Linked DNA regions of Homo sapiens: region 2 is linked to region 1. Evidence: promoter capture Hi-C in 16 types of primary human blood cells and fetal thymus (Javierre and others, 2016). All regions are on one chromosome and are shown on one strand. Each heading gives the region's core, a stretch centred on a gene start or on the middle of the fragment in contact. The rest is flanking DNA. Distances are from core to core; before and after follow the strand shown. Region 1 holds the start of CXCL17 (C-X-C motif chemokine ligand 17). Region 2 overlaps LIPE-AS1 (LIPE antisense RNA 1).

The links. The method cuts DNA at HindIII sites, captures the fragments that hold promoters and counts their contacts. A CHiCAGO score of 5 or more calls a contact.
Region 2: a contact is called between a fragment that was not itself captured here and the fragment with the promoter of CXCL17 in region 1, in 2 of 17 cell types (neutrophils and M1 macrophages). The highest score is 6.0, in neutrophils.

The regions. Positions count from the first base shown.
Region 1 is chr19:42,439,028-42,445,471 of GRCh38, reverse strand. It overlaps CXCL17 (C-X-C motif chemokine ligand 17), which reads left to right and starts at 2,526. Exons shown (of 4, transcript NM_198477.3): 1 at 2,526-2,718. The coding sequence starts at 2,640. All of the region lies in intron 1 of LIPE-AS1 (LIPE antisense RNA 1), which reads right to left. RefSeq lists a silencer at 5,008-5,097. The HindIII fragment of the contact is 2,256 bases long and covers 1,317-3,572 here.
Region 2 is chr19:42,542,525-42,548,517 of GRCh38, reverse strand. The region is part of intron 2 of LIPE-AS1 (LIPE antisense RNA 1); the gene reads right to left. Among named protein-coding and RNA genes, the nearest start is that of CEACAM1, 17 kb to the right of the region's middle. The HindIII fragment of the contact is 3,488 bases long and covers 2,698-5,993 here.

The DNA of each region.
Region 1 (6,444 bases), core at 1,277-3,776:
CAGGGCTCCCATTTCACTCTGAACGTCCTCTCTCCTATCGGAGCTCACCACGTCTACACCTGCAGCAGCCAGGTAGCTGCACACTAATAGAAAATCCAGCAAGTCAGAAAACTTGATTTACTCCTGTAACTTTGAGGCTACTGACTGTGTTGTTGAACTAATCCTATAACTTCCCTGCACTTTAATTTCCATGTCTGTAAAGTGGGGCAGGTGGATTCGGTCACCCTAGGTGCCACTGTATAGTGAGAGCTCCTCAGAGACAGCAGCACACCTGATCTCAGCATCCACCATCTAGTAAATACCAGGCACACACTAGGCGCTCAAAGTCTCACTGAATGTATGTGTGAATAAATGACTATATGAGAGCCATGTGGATCATGGACAAAGTCAACAAATATTTTTGAATGTCTACCAAGTACACTGTAGAATAGGGAAATAAGTAACCCAGGCAGGGCGGTGTTTTCTCCCAAATTCCCCTTACCTCCTCCTGAGGAATGGAGGGCCTCTGTACATCAGAGAGACTCTTGACACAAATAATGTTCTTGAGATGCATCATAAGAAGTTGTGATGTTAACAAGAAAAAAGTCCATTTGTCTTGGGGGTGTTTTATATTAATAGACCTAACAGACCGGAAGCCCCCTCCAATGGGACACAGGATGCAACACCCACCCCAAGTGCATGGAGGGGAAACCAGAGGGAGCAGGACCTGGAAGAACAGAGGGGTAAAGAGACTGAGGCACGGGAGGTAGGTCTGAGGAGGAGCTCCCGGCCCCTGCGGTGGCCTGGGTGTGGACTGATGCAGAACTCAGCAGCATAAGTAAAGTGGCCGCACCAGGCTCCATTTGTACATGGGATGGTTTTTCAGTAAGATTTTCTTTCTGCTAATGGGCTACATTTTCGCACACTTTCTAATACATCAGGCCCAGTTAATGGGCTACAAAACAATCATTCCATTCAACAGTCATTTATAGAATACTCCCAAAGTGCCAGACCCTGTGTAAGTTCAAGCAATACAAAAATGAACACGAACAGCTCCTGTCCTCTAAAATCCCCATCCAATGAGCTCCAGGAGGCACCTCTCCTACAACACGCCCCTGCTCTGCACGGCCCTCCTCTCTGCCCTCCACCAACCCAAATCCTCCCCCAACTCCAGCTCAAGTTCCACCCAACCAAGTCCCTCTCAGTCCCCCTGCACTCCTGCCACTTTGAGAGATGACTGCACCCATATCTCTAGGCTTTATGAAATGGATGTCATCTCCCTGGTTTTAGAATTTTCCAGAAAGAAGCCACATCAGTGATTTGCATCAGAACAAGCTTAGGCCCACCCTGAGCCTTCAACTTGGACACAGGCTCAGTCATAGCAGTCCCTGGCCCCTGCAGTGCTTTATAAACACTGCAGTAGCAAAGTCCACAATCAACTCTGTGACAAGTCAACAGGCCGAGATAATTTGAAAACGTGGAGAAAAAAGAATGGTCAAACAAAACCAAAGGGCTTTGACTCATGCCTTTCCTCTTTCCTTCTCTCAGGGAAATAAAGTCACACCCCCTGCTCTCACTCCTGCCTGGAGGCTTCCAAAAAAAGGGCTCCCTTGTTAGCCTTCCCTTCAGCCCCCATGAATATCACCCAGCATTCAAGCCCAGCCTCTCCTCTCCCTTTGAGCACATTTCCTAAAGTCTCAAATAAATGTCAAGTTTAGTGAGTGCTGATATTCTATGCCCCTAATGTTTACTTCAAGTATTATTACCTTTCTTCTTTTGCCCGGGGCCATTTCCAAACAAGGGCTGGAGCCAGGCGCCCCAGCAGCTGGGCAAACACACTTCAGGGCTCCTTCCCTCCTGTGGCTCCTGTTTCTCAAACCCTCTGAGACCTAAAGCTCTGGGGGTCTCTTCCCCCAACCCAGTTCCCTCCCCTTTAGACCAGAACAACTAAGCCATGGCCACCTTCCCGATGGACACACAAGGAGGCCTGGTGTCACCCACTGCTCCAGGGGCGGTGTTCTCGGCAGGGGAGCTGCCTCTTGTCCCGGATCCTGCTCTGCTGCCATCTTATGTGGCTGCAGAATTGGAGGGAATTGTGAACAGAGAGAGGACAGGGCAACTTCCCAGGCAACAACACTACTATTGCCGATATTTTGCCAAGGATGGGAGCAGGAGCACAGAGGGGAAACAGACCTTGTCAAAGTCTCTTCTACCAACACTTAGTATCCACTTTCCTGCCAAATATTCAGATAGAGAGGGTCATTGAAAGGTATAAGGAAATCCAAGCAAGAAAAAAAGATTTGAGGAAGAAATCATGAGGCATTGGGGTGTGAGGAGGCGGGAAAGAGTACAGGAGAGAACTGGCACAGCTGCCAAGTTATCAGTCACCTTCTTATGTTCTTAAGAATGCTGAATTTCTTTTGTTTGACCAGTTTCACCTCCCAGATTCCCATAAAGCACATGGTCTAATCTGTTACGTAACAGCAAGACAGCGTCACCTCACCTGTTCTCGCCCTCAAATGGGAACGCTGGCCTGGGACTAAAGCATAGACCACCAGGCTGAGTATCCTGACCTGAGTCATCCCCAGGGATCAGGAGCCTCCAGCAGGGAACCTTCCATTATATTCTTCAAGCAACTTACAGCTGCACCGACAGTTGCGATGAAAGTTCTAATCTCTTCCCTCCTCCTGTTGCTGCCACTAATGCTGATGTCCATGGTCTCTAGCAGCCTGAATCCAGGTAAACAAGACTGTCTATGAAGGGGAAAACGGGGGGAGAAATGTGGCAAAACAGGCCACAGACACATCAAAATGCAGCTTCTCTTAGCTATGGGGGATGGGGCAAGTGAGCCTTTCTCAATGCCAGTTTCCTCCTTTACAAAAAAACAGCAAACTGTACTTACACCCAAACAATGTTGAGAGAGTTAAACGAGATATTGTATGTGAAAATATCTGCAACTGGCCGGGCGCGGTGGCTCACTCCTGTAATCCCAGCACTTTGGGAGGCCAAGGCAGGGCGGATTACAAGGTCAGGAGATCGAGACCATCCTGGCTAACACGGTGAAACTCCATCTCTACTAAAAATACAAAAAATTAGCCAGACCTGGTGGCACGCACCTGTAGTCCCAGCTACTCAGGAGGCTGAGGCCAGAGAATTGCTGGAACCCAGGAGGTGGAGGCTGCAGTGAGCCGAGACGGCACCACTGTACTCCAGCCTGGGTGACAGAGTGAGACTCCATCTCAAAAAAAAAAAAAAAAAAAAAAGGAAAGAAAAGAAAAGAAGATATCTGCAATTGTAGCTGATCCCCCTCACACACACGTACGTATGTATGTATATACTAGCTCAACAAAGATTTGCTCCCATGCCTTCTCCCCCAACACTTTTCCAAAAGAGTAACATAATTCTCATGGCTAAACTTAATGATGATGGTGGGAGAGTGTTGAAGGCAATGGTACCTTTATAGAAGATCAGGAAGTCCTTGCTTCTATTCTTTACAGTGCACTGGAATGCCACCAACATGTCTTAATGCTATTTACTGGTAACGTAATAAACTAGAAAAAGCCTGTCACCAGGTAGTGTCCATATTTGAAGCTTTATCCATAGCAAGCCCTGCTGTAACAGCTCACATTTTGGGAAGCCGACTTTAGCTTAGGGGTTCCAAATCTGCTCCAGCTTTCACTATAAAGTGGCCCAGCCCTGCACAGAGCAACCACGCAGAAAAGACCTGATCCCCATGTATATTTCCGCTTGTGAGCACCATCTCCCCAAAGGCCACTTTGAGGTGAAATGGCTATGTTACATACTCAGCATCAACTTGGTCCTAAAATCAGGAGGCATTCTCCCTTCTCCACCCCAATTTCCAACATCCCCTCCTTTGTAGAGAGAGTGCTCTGGAAGCTGTTAAGCCCCATAGCCCTAGGGCCTAGACCACTGTTCTGAAAGGGAAGACTTTTCCATCACTATGACAGACACCCAGGCTAGAGTCCTCTGCCTGGATTCAAAGCTGTAGCCCCAACCTGCCTTTCTAGTGTACCTCCCTCTACTCACTAAAAATACTATTTCTCCAACCAAACTAACCTGTTTGCCCTTCCCTGAACAGGTATTGTGTTTTTCCACCAGTTCAACTTTGCTCACACACCCAGCTCAAAACCACCTTCCCACAGCTTCCTTCAGTTCCTCCCACAGCCAGACATGTGGTCTCCCTCCTGAGCGCTGGCTTAGCCCTGCTGGACACTCTCTTCTTGCACTTATCATCTGCTGCCTTATATTGAGGGCCTTCATGTGCCTTTCCTGCCCCCACCCCCTGTCCTTCTAGGCTGCAAACTACTTGGTGACACAGACTGGTGCACTGTTTCCATATCCCTCACGCTATCCAGCTCAGTACTCAGCAAACATTAGCTAACTGCAAGAATGCATCCTCAGGTTGCTAAATCAAACCAGGGCTTCATAGCAGCTCTACTGACATTTGGGCTGAACAGTTCCTTGCGGTGGGGGCTGTTCTGTGTATTGTGAGATGTTCAGCAGCATCCGCGTGGCCTCTCTCCCCTACATGCCAATAGCAGCCTCCCCTCTCCCTCATCCAAACCCCTGTTATGGCAGCCAAAAATATCTCTAGACATCGCCAAATGACCCCGGAGGGGGAACCACCCTTGGTCAACAACCACTGCTCTACACCAATACTTCTCTGCATGGCCACACTTTTAGACTCACCTAGACCTTTACACTCAGCTTGGAAGTCAGGGGGACCTAGATCCTGGCTCTGCCACACACTTTGCAACCCTAGACAAGTCGCCTCACTTTTTTGAGTTTCAGTTTTATCATCTTAAAATGAAGAAAATACCACTTGTCACACACACTTGTGAAGATTAAATGATCCGCAGCGTGTCCTAGAAAGGGTTTAATAAATGGACTGAGTAGTTTCTAAGTCGCTCCTAAAGCACGAGGGTGAGGAACTGGGGAAAGCTCCCTGCGCCACCAGGGGGCGCCATCACAAACCACGTCGAGTGGGTGGCGGCCGGGCTCAAATCTTGTTTCCCAGCCAAGCAAAGTTTTGCAGTGCAGGCCTGAGTCTGAGCTACTTAGTGGCTAAAGGAAATAATAGCTCCTCCATCCCCAAAATAAATCTCAGAATAAAGTCTAATCTTATTTTATCTCTTAATCACATACATGCTCAATATGCTTTTCACAGGGTTAAGGGAAATAGAAATAAGTGAGAATATATGAGGTCATTAGGAAATAAATTACTTAAAATAACAGATTATTCATTAATTATAATATTATTTAATTATAAAATTACTTATAATATCAGACACATTAAGAACTCCTATATCACAAGCATTGTTCTAATCACTTCACACTTACTATCTCATTTGTCCTCACAAATCTAATGCATTTCTTACTTTTTCTTACTTTTCATTTTTCAGACTTTGAAAAATATTGTAAAAATAGAGTTCCAGTACAGCCTTCATCCAATTGTTTTCAAACAATATCTTATGTAACCATAATACAATTATCAAAACCAGGAGATTAGCACTGATACCATAATATTAACTAATCTACAAATGTTCAAATCTTGCTAATCATCCCACTCATGTCCTTTTTCTGCTCCAGACTCCAATCTGGGATCCCACTGAATAAAATGTCAGATCTCCTAGGTCTCCTCCAACCTGGGATAGTTTCTCAGTCTTTCCCTCTCTTTCAGGACCTTGACACTTTTGAAGAGTTCTAGCCAGTTGTTTTGTAGAATGCCCCCTGAATATGGGTTTGTCTGATATTTCCGGCTACACATTTTGGGCAAGAATACTTCAGAAGTGATGTATCCTTCTCTGGACATCCCAGCAAGAGCCCCAGGATGTCGATATCTCTCATTACTGATGAGGTTCACTTTAAGCACTTGGTTCAGGTGGTGTCTGCCAGGTTTCTCTACTGTAAAGTTACTATTCATCTTATTGTAATTAATAAGTATCTTGTGGAGAGACACTTTGGAAATATGTAAATAGCCTGTTTCTTCTCATCATACTTTTTTTTTTCTTGTTATTCACCAGTTATGGCATCATCATACTTTTAATATTAACTTTTAGAATCTATGGATGATTGTTTCCTATAAAGAATTATTACTGTGGTGTTGGCCAAATAGTGATTTTCTACTTCCATTGTTCCTTCTACATTTATTTAATCGGAATTCTGCCATAAGAAAGAGTTATTCCTTTTTCTTTTTCTTTTTTTTTTTTTTTTTTTTTGAGATAGAGTCTTGCTCTGTTGCCTAGGCTGGAGTGCAGTGGTGTGATCTTGGCTCACTGCCGCCTCCACCTTCTGGGCTCAAGCGATCCTCCCACCTCAGCCTCCTGAGTAGCTGGGACTACAGGCAGACACCACCACACCCAGCTAATTTTTGTATTTTTAGTAGAGACGGGGTTTTGTCATGTTAGCCAGGCTGGTCTCTAATTCCTGGCCTCAAGTGATCCC
Region 2 (5,993 bases), core at 3,192-5,691, 100 kb before region 1:
CATGGCTGGGAAGGCCTCAGGAAACTTACAGTCATGGCAGAAGGGGAAGCAAACATGTCCTTCAAATGGCAGCATCAATGAGAAGAATGAGAGCCAACCAAAGGGGGAGGCTCTTTATAAAACCATCAGATCTCATGAGAACTTACTATCATTAGACTAGCATGGGGGAACGACTCCCATGATTCAATTACCTCTCACCAGGTCCCTCCCACAACATGTAGGGATTACGGGAATTACAATTCAAGATGAGATTTGGGTGGGGACACAGCCAAACCATATCACTGCCCATTCTATTCCACATGAGAAAGATGCAATGAGGGAGAAACATTTGTTGCAGGTGCCTGGACGTTAGGGTTGTAGGCACATCTGTTGCCACTCCCTGCAGGGCTGAGTGCTGCACCCAGGGTGTGGTCTCTGGGAGGCTGAGTGCCTGCTCCTGCCTCATGATGCATCTTTCTGCCCCTGACACTCAGGCCACTGTCTCTGCCTACAAAAGGTGGGAATTTTTCATGATTAATTTTTTACCCTCTTGCCTGACCCTGGAACCACACACATCACCCTGCCTGGAGCACACCCTGAGCACAGCATCCTGCTCCTCCAGCCCCAGCTGAGCCCCTGGGAAGCGGAGCTGACCCAAGCCCCTGGGCTCCTCTACCAGCTCCTCCAAGCCAAGCCTTATCACCCCCATCTTGCTCATTCCTGCTTACATCACACCCACAGAGAAGACTCTGGCCCTACAGACCATCCCTGCCCTTCAGGGACTCAGGTCCAGCCAATCCAGTGTCCCTTCTGGGCACACACAGCACTCAGAATCCCCAGTGTAAGGGTCACCTGTGGGCTCAGGGGTTGGGGGATCCTGTAACTTGCATGAGTCAGAGCCCTCCTCACATCCCACATCTGAGCAGTCACCAGGGTCCTCTCTGCCCTGTCCTCATATCCAATGTCTCGATGACTCACTCAATGTCCTGGGTCACCCTTGTCATCTCTCCTGGACACAGCCACAGCTCCTGACAGGAAGAGTTGAGGTTCAGTCTCTCCAGGAATCCCTCCCACTCTGACCACTTGAACCTGCTCATTCTCATCTGACCCTCCCCTCACCAGGGGTCTTGTGCTCTCGATCCCTGGATACCTGGGTCCTTGTCAGGCAAACATCATAACAATAACAACCACCTGAACCCTGAAACTGTCACCCAAGGCACATGTCTGATGACAGTCACCAGGTGAGACACCTGTGGCTTCACATACCTGAGGCTTCACTGTAAAGAGGCTTCCTCATCCCTTTCCTTTCATCCCTAGGGTCAGTAAGCACCACAGGCTGCCTCGGACCACCAGCCCCTTCCCCCAGACACAGCATCAGATCTATACTGACCCTCTATATGGAGAGGCTTTGGGGAACAGCAGACACTAGGAAATCCCACTGACCCAGGTGTCACCCACAGCCCCACCCCTCCTCATATCAATGGCAGGGACAGACACGTAACACACCTCTGCTCACCGCCCAGCCCCCAAGATCAATCACAGTCTGCTTCTCCCTTCACCCACTACTCCCCACATCTTCCCTCCCCAGCTGCAGCCTGGATGGCCTCCCTGCTGTTCTTGGTCCATGAAGGCAGGTTCCAACCTCTGTATCATTCCCTTCTCTTCCCTCCCCTTCCCTCTCCTCCCCTCCCCTCCCCTCCCCTCTCCATCCCTTCCCAGGAGCCCACATCAGCCTGTCCACCTGCCTTACAGCCAAAGCCATCAGCCACTTGCTCCCTTCCACCCTCCCCAACCCTGTACATGGAGGTGACGGCCCCTCCTGGAACACCCACCACTCACTGTCAGCCTTCAGTGGTAATCACAGGTTCTACAGGGGTCACCTGTGGAACCAGAACTCTTGGAAGGACGAGCAGAGGGAGCTGCTCAGGACATCTTGGGGCTCCTGGCATCTGGTCCACCACATGGACATAATCAATAGCACTTAGTGAAAGGGTAAGTGGTGGATGACTAAGTGTAAGTGAAGACGGTGTGTGGGCAGAGGTAGGCACAAGAACACGGGCACTTTCTACTTCAATCATTATTCCAAGAAAGGTGGGGATACTGGAGATGGACATTTTCATATATTCCTGATGGGACTGCAGTACTTACAACAACAACTTTGGCCCATGATTTTTTAGGTCTTGTGGAGGTTTTTGAGATGGAGTCTCGCTCTGTTGCCTAGGCAGGAGTACAGTGGCATGATCATAGCTCACTGCAGCCTTCAACTCCTAGCTTCAAGCAACCTCCTGCCTTGGCCTCCCAAAGCTCTGGAATTGCAGGTTTGAACTCAGCCATCACACCCAGCCCTGGCCTCATTGTGTTCAGTGTGCATACGCTTTGACCACTATCCCACTTCTGAGAGTCCCACTGAGCGGTGAGCTCTGAGAAGGCAGGACTGTGCCTGCCCTGTCTCTGTTAAAGCCCTTGACCTGCCCACAGCCTGGCCAGGGTACTTTATAAGAGCTGAATGAATGAGTTCCTGGATTAATACTCCACGTGGGGAAAAGATATGTGTATGAGGATAGTCACTGCAGAATGTCTTGTCAACATGAAGAGTGGGACACAGCGTCAAATCCAATAGGCGAGTGGATAAAGCATCACAGTGTAGCCATGCAATAAAATAAATAAGGGGAAAGCAATGAAAAGGCAAAGAACATCAACAGATGCTTTTCAAAAGCTTGAACATATGGACCAACATGCATATGAAAAAATGCTCAACATCACTAATTATTAGAGAAATGCAAATCAAAACCACAGTAAGATACCGTTTCACACCAGAGTGGCTATTATTAAAAAGTCAAAAAATAACAGATGCTGCTGAAGTTGCAGAGAAAAAGGAATGTGCTGGGCACGGTGGCTTACACCTGTAATCCCAGCAATTTGGGAAGCCAAGGAGGGAGGACCACTTGAGGCCAGGAGTTCAAGAGCAGCCTGCCCAACAGGATGAAACCTCGACTCTACTAAGAATACAAAAATTAGCCAGGCGTGGTGGTGCACGCCTGTAGTCCCAGCTACTTAGGAGGCTGAGGCACAAGAATCACTTGAACCCAGGAGGTGGAGTTTGCAGAGAGCTGAGGCTGTGCCACTACACTCCAGCCTGGGCAACAAAGCAAGACTGTCTAAAAAAGAAAAAAGAGAGAGAGAAAATGGAACGTTTATACACTGTTGGTGAGAATGTAAATTAGTTTAGCGATTGTGAAAAGCAGTATGGCAATTCCTCAAAGAGCTAAAAACAAAAGTACCATTTGACCCTGCAACCCCATTACTGGGTATACACCCAGAGGAATATAAATCATTCTACCATAAGGACACATGCACACGAATGTTCATTGCAGCACCATTCACAATAGCAAAGACATGGAATCAACATAAATGTCCATCAATGGTAGACTGGATAAAGAAAATGTGGTACGTACACACCATGGAATACTACACAGCTACAAAAAAGAATGAGGTCATTTCCTTTGCAGAAACATGGATGGAGCTGGAGGCCATTATCCTTAGCAAACTAACAGAGGAACAGAAAACCAAATATCACATGTTCTCATTTTTGCATTTTTAGTAGAGACGGGGTTTCACCATACTGGGCAGGCTGGTCTCGAACTCCTGACCTCGTGATCCACCCCCCGCCCCCCCCCCAGCCTCCCAAAGTGCTGGGATTACAGGCGTAAGCCACCATGCCCAGCCGCATGTTCTCACTTTTAAGTGGGACCTAAATGATTGGAACCCATGGACACAAAGAGAAGAACAAACACTGGGGCCTACTTGAGGGTGGAGGGTGGGAGGAGGGAGAGGATCAGACAAAACACCTGTTGGGTACTAGGCTTAATACCTGGGTAACAAAATCATCTGTACACCAAACCCCTGTGACATGCAGTTTATGTATATAATAAACCTGTACATGTACCCCTGAACCTAAAATAAAACCTCTAAAACAGAAAAAGAAACACAATTGGAGCAAATCCACATGTGTTGAGAAAGGAAGTGTCCACCATACATGCTTCACTATAAAACAACATTACCAATTAATAATATAATTCATTAATGTTTGGCTGTATAAACAATGAGTGGGACAAATGAGAAAGTATTATTGAAAGATTCATACCAACTGCAAACAGTGGTTACATCCTGGAAATGGAATTGGAGTGGGGTGGGGTCAGGGATCTGACACATCATTTTACAAGCGCTTATATTGCTGGAATTTACAATAAGTGTGCTTTCTTATGTGACCGTTTTTTTTTTGTTTGTTTTTTGTTTTTTTTTGAGATGGAGTCTCCCTCTGTTGCCCAGGCTGGAGTGCAGTGGTGTGATCTCAGCTCACTGCAAGCTCCACCTCCGGAGTTCACGCCATTCTCCTGCCTCAGCCTCCTGAGTAGCTGGGACTACAGGCGCCTGCCACCATACCTGGCTAATTTTTTGTAATTTTAATAGAGATGGGGTTTCACCATGTTAACCAGGATGGTCTCAATCTCCTGACCTCATGATCCACCCGCCTCGGCCTCCCAAAGTGCTGGGATTACAGGCGTGAGCCACTATGCCCAGCCACCTATATGATTTTCAAAATAACAGATGAAACCATTTCAAAAGACTCAAGAGGTGTGTGACATCCTCGGGCCCCAGAGCCCAGGCCTCCTCCAGCCCCAACACTGTTGAGTCCCCTCTGAGATGGCCCTTTGAGGTCTCCTCATCCCACCACTCAGGTACAGAGACACCGAGACTCCCAGGAGGGGATCCTTGCTGCAGATCCCACAGCAGACAGGGATAAAGTGAGGTTCTGTCCAGCCTGACACACATACTGAGTGAGCACACACACTATAGGCTTGTCCTGGATAGTGGGACAGTCCCTGCTATACAAGCACCATTCAGTGGACACTGGGAGTGAACAGATGAGACCAAACCGCCCTGCAGGTCCTAAGACAAGGGCAGCACAGAGCCCTAGGGGACATGGGTCCCATCCAGCCCTGAGCCTCCCCCTCATCTCATGGCCTCTCCCTCTCCCTGCTCCTGACCCAGGAAGAGCCACATAATGTGGGGGATTCAGTGCAACCTGAAAATGCAGTATCCTTCTTCAAGACAGGATTAAGAGGGTTTCAACACAGCCACAGAAGGGCACTATATTAAGTGCAGGACCCTTCTAAGCACAGGCCCCCATGTGATAACACAGGTCACATGCCAAGAAGCTGGCCCCGTCCTACCCTCCTGCCTCAGGTCTAGATGCCCACATTTGGGAGTGACCTCAGGGACTAAGAAGACAAAAGTTAACACAGCTCAAGAAGAGACACGGCTCTACTGCTTCCTATGCCCCTTACTCTGTTCAACTCTTCTGCAGACCCTCAGGGCAGACAGCCCCTTAGATGATGTGACAGGGATGGGCCTGGCCTCCTCCCTGGCCAGGAGAACACTGCAGGCAAAGGCCTGTGGAGTGCTGAGGTGACCCAGCCCTGCACTGACTGTCCTGCAGGGGGAGGCTGTTGTCCATCTCTGCCCAGGGCTCTGCAGGTGGAGCACTAATTTGAACCCTGGTCAATGCCTGGTTCTGGACGCAACAGGTGAGTCTAAGCCCTGAGACCATCAAGATGCGGTTATTGTGCCTCTGTCCTGATGAAACCATCTGTGGCTCCCACCATCTGTGGGACACAACCCCCACCCCCCTGCAGGTGTCCCTTGATACTGCCTCATGCCATCCTACCTTGGGTGATAACTATTCCCTGAGTCCCCAGTATTCCCACTGGGCATATCCCAGAGGTCTGCATTCACAGACTTGATGCATGCCCATGACAATGGTCAGATTTTAAAAGGAATTATAAGAAACGTGCACTGAGGCCGGGCGCAGTGGCTCACGCCTATAATCCCAGAACTTTGGGAGGTGGAGACAGGTGGATCACCTGAGTTCGAGACCACCCTGGCTAACATGGTGAAACCCCATCTCTACTAAAAATACAAAAATTAGCTGGGTGTGGTGGCACCCACCTGTA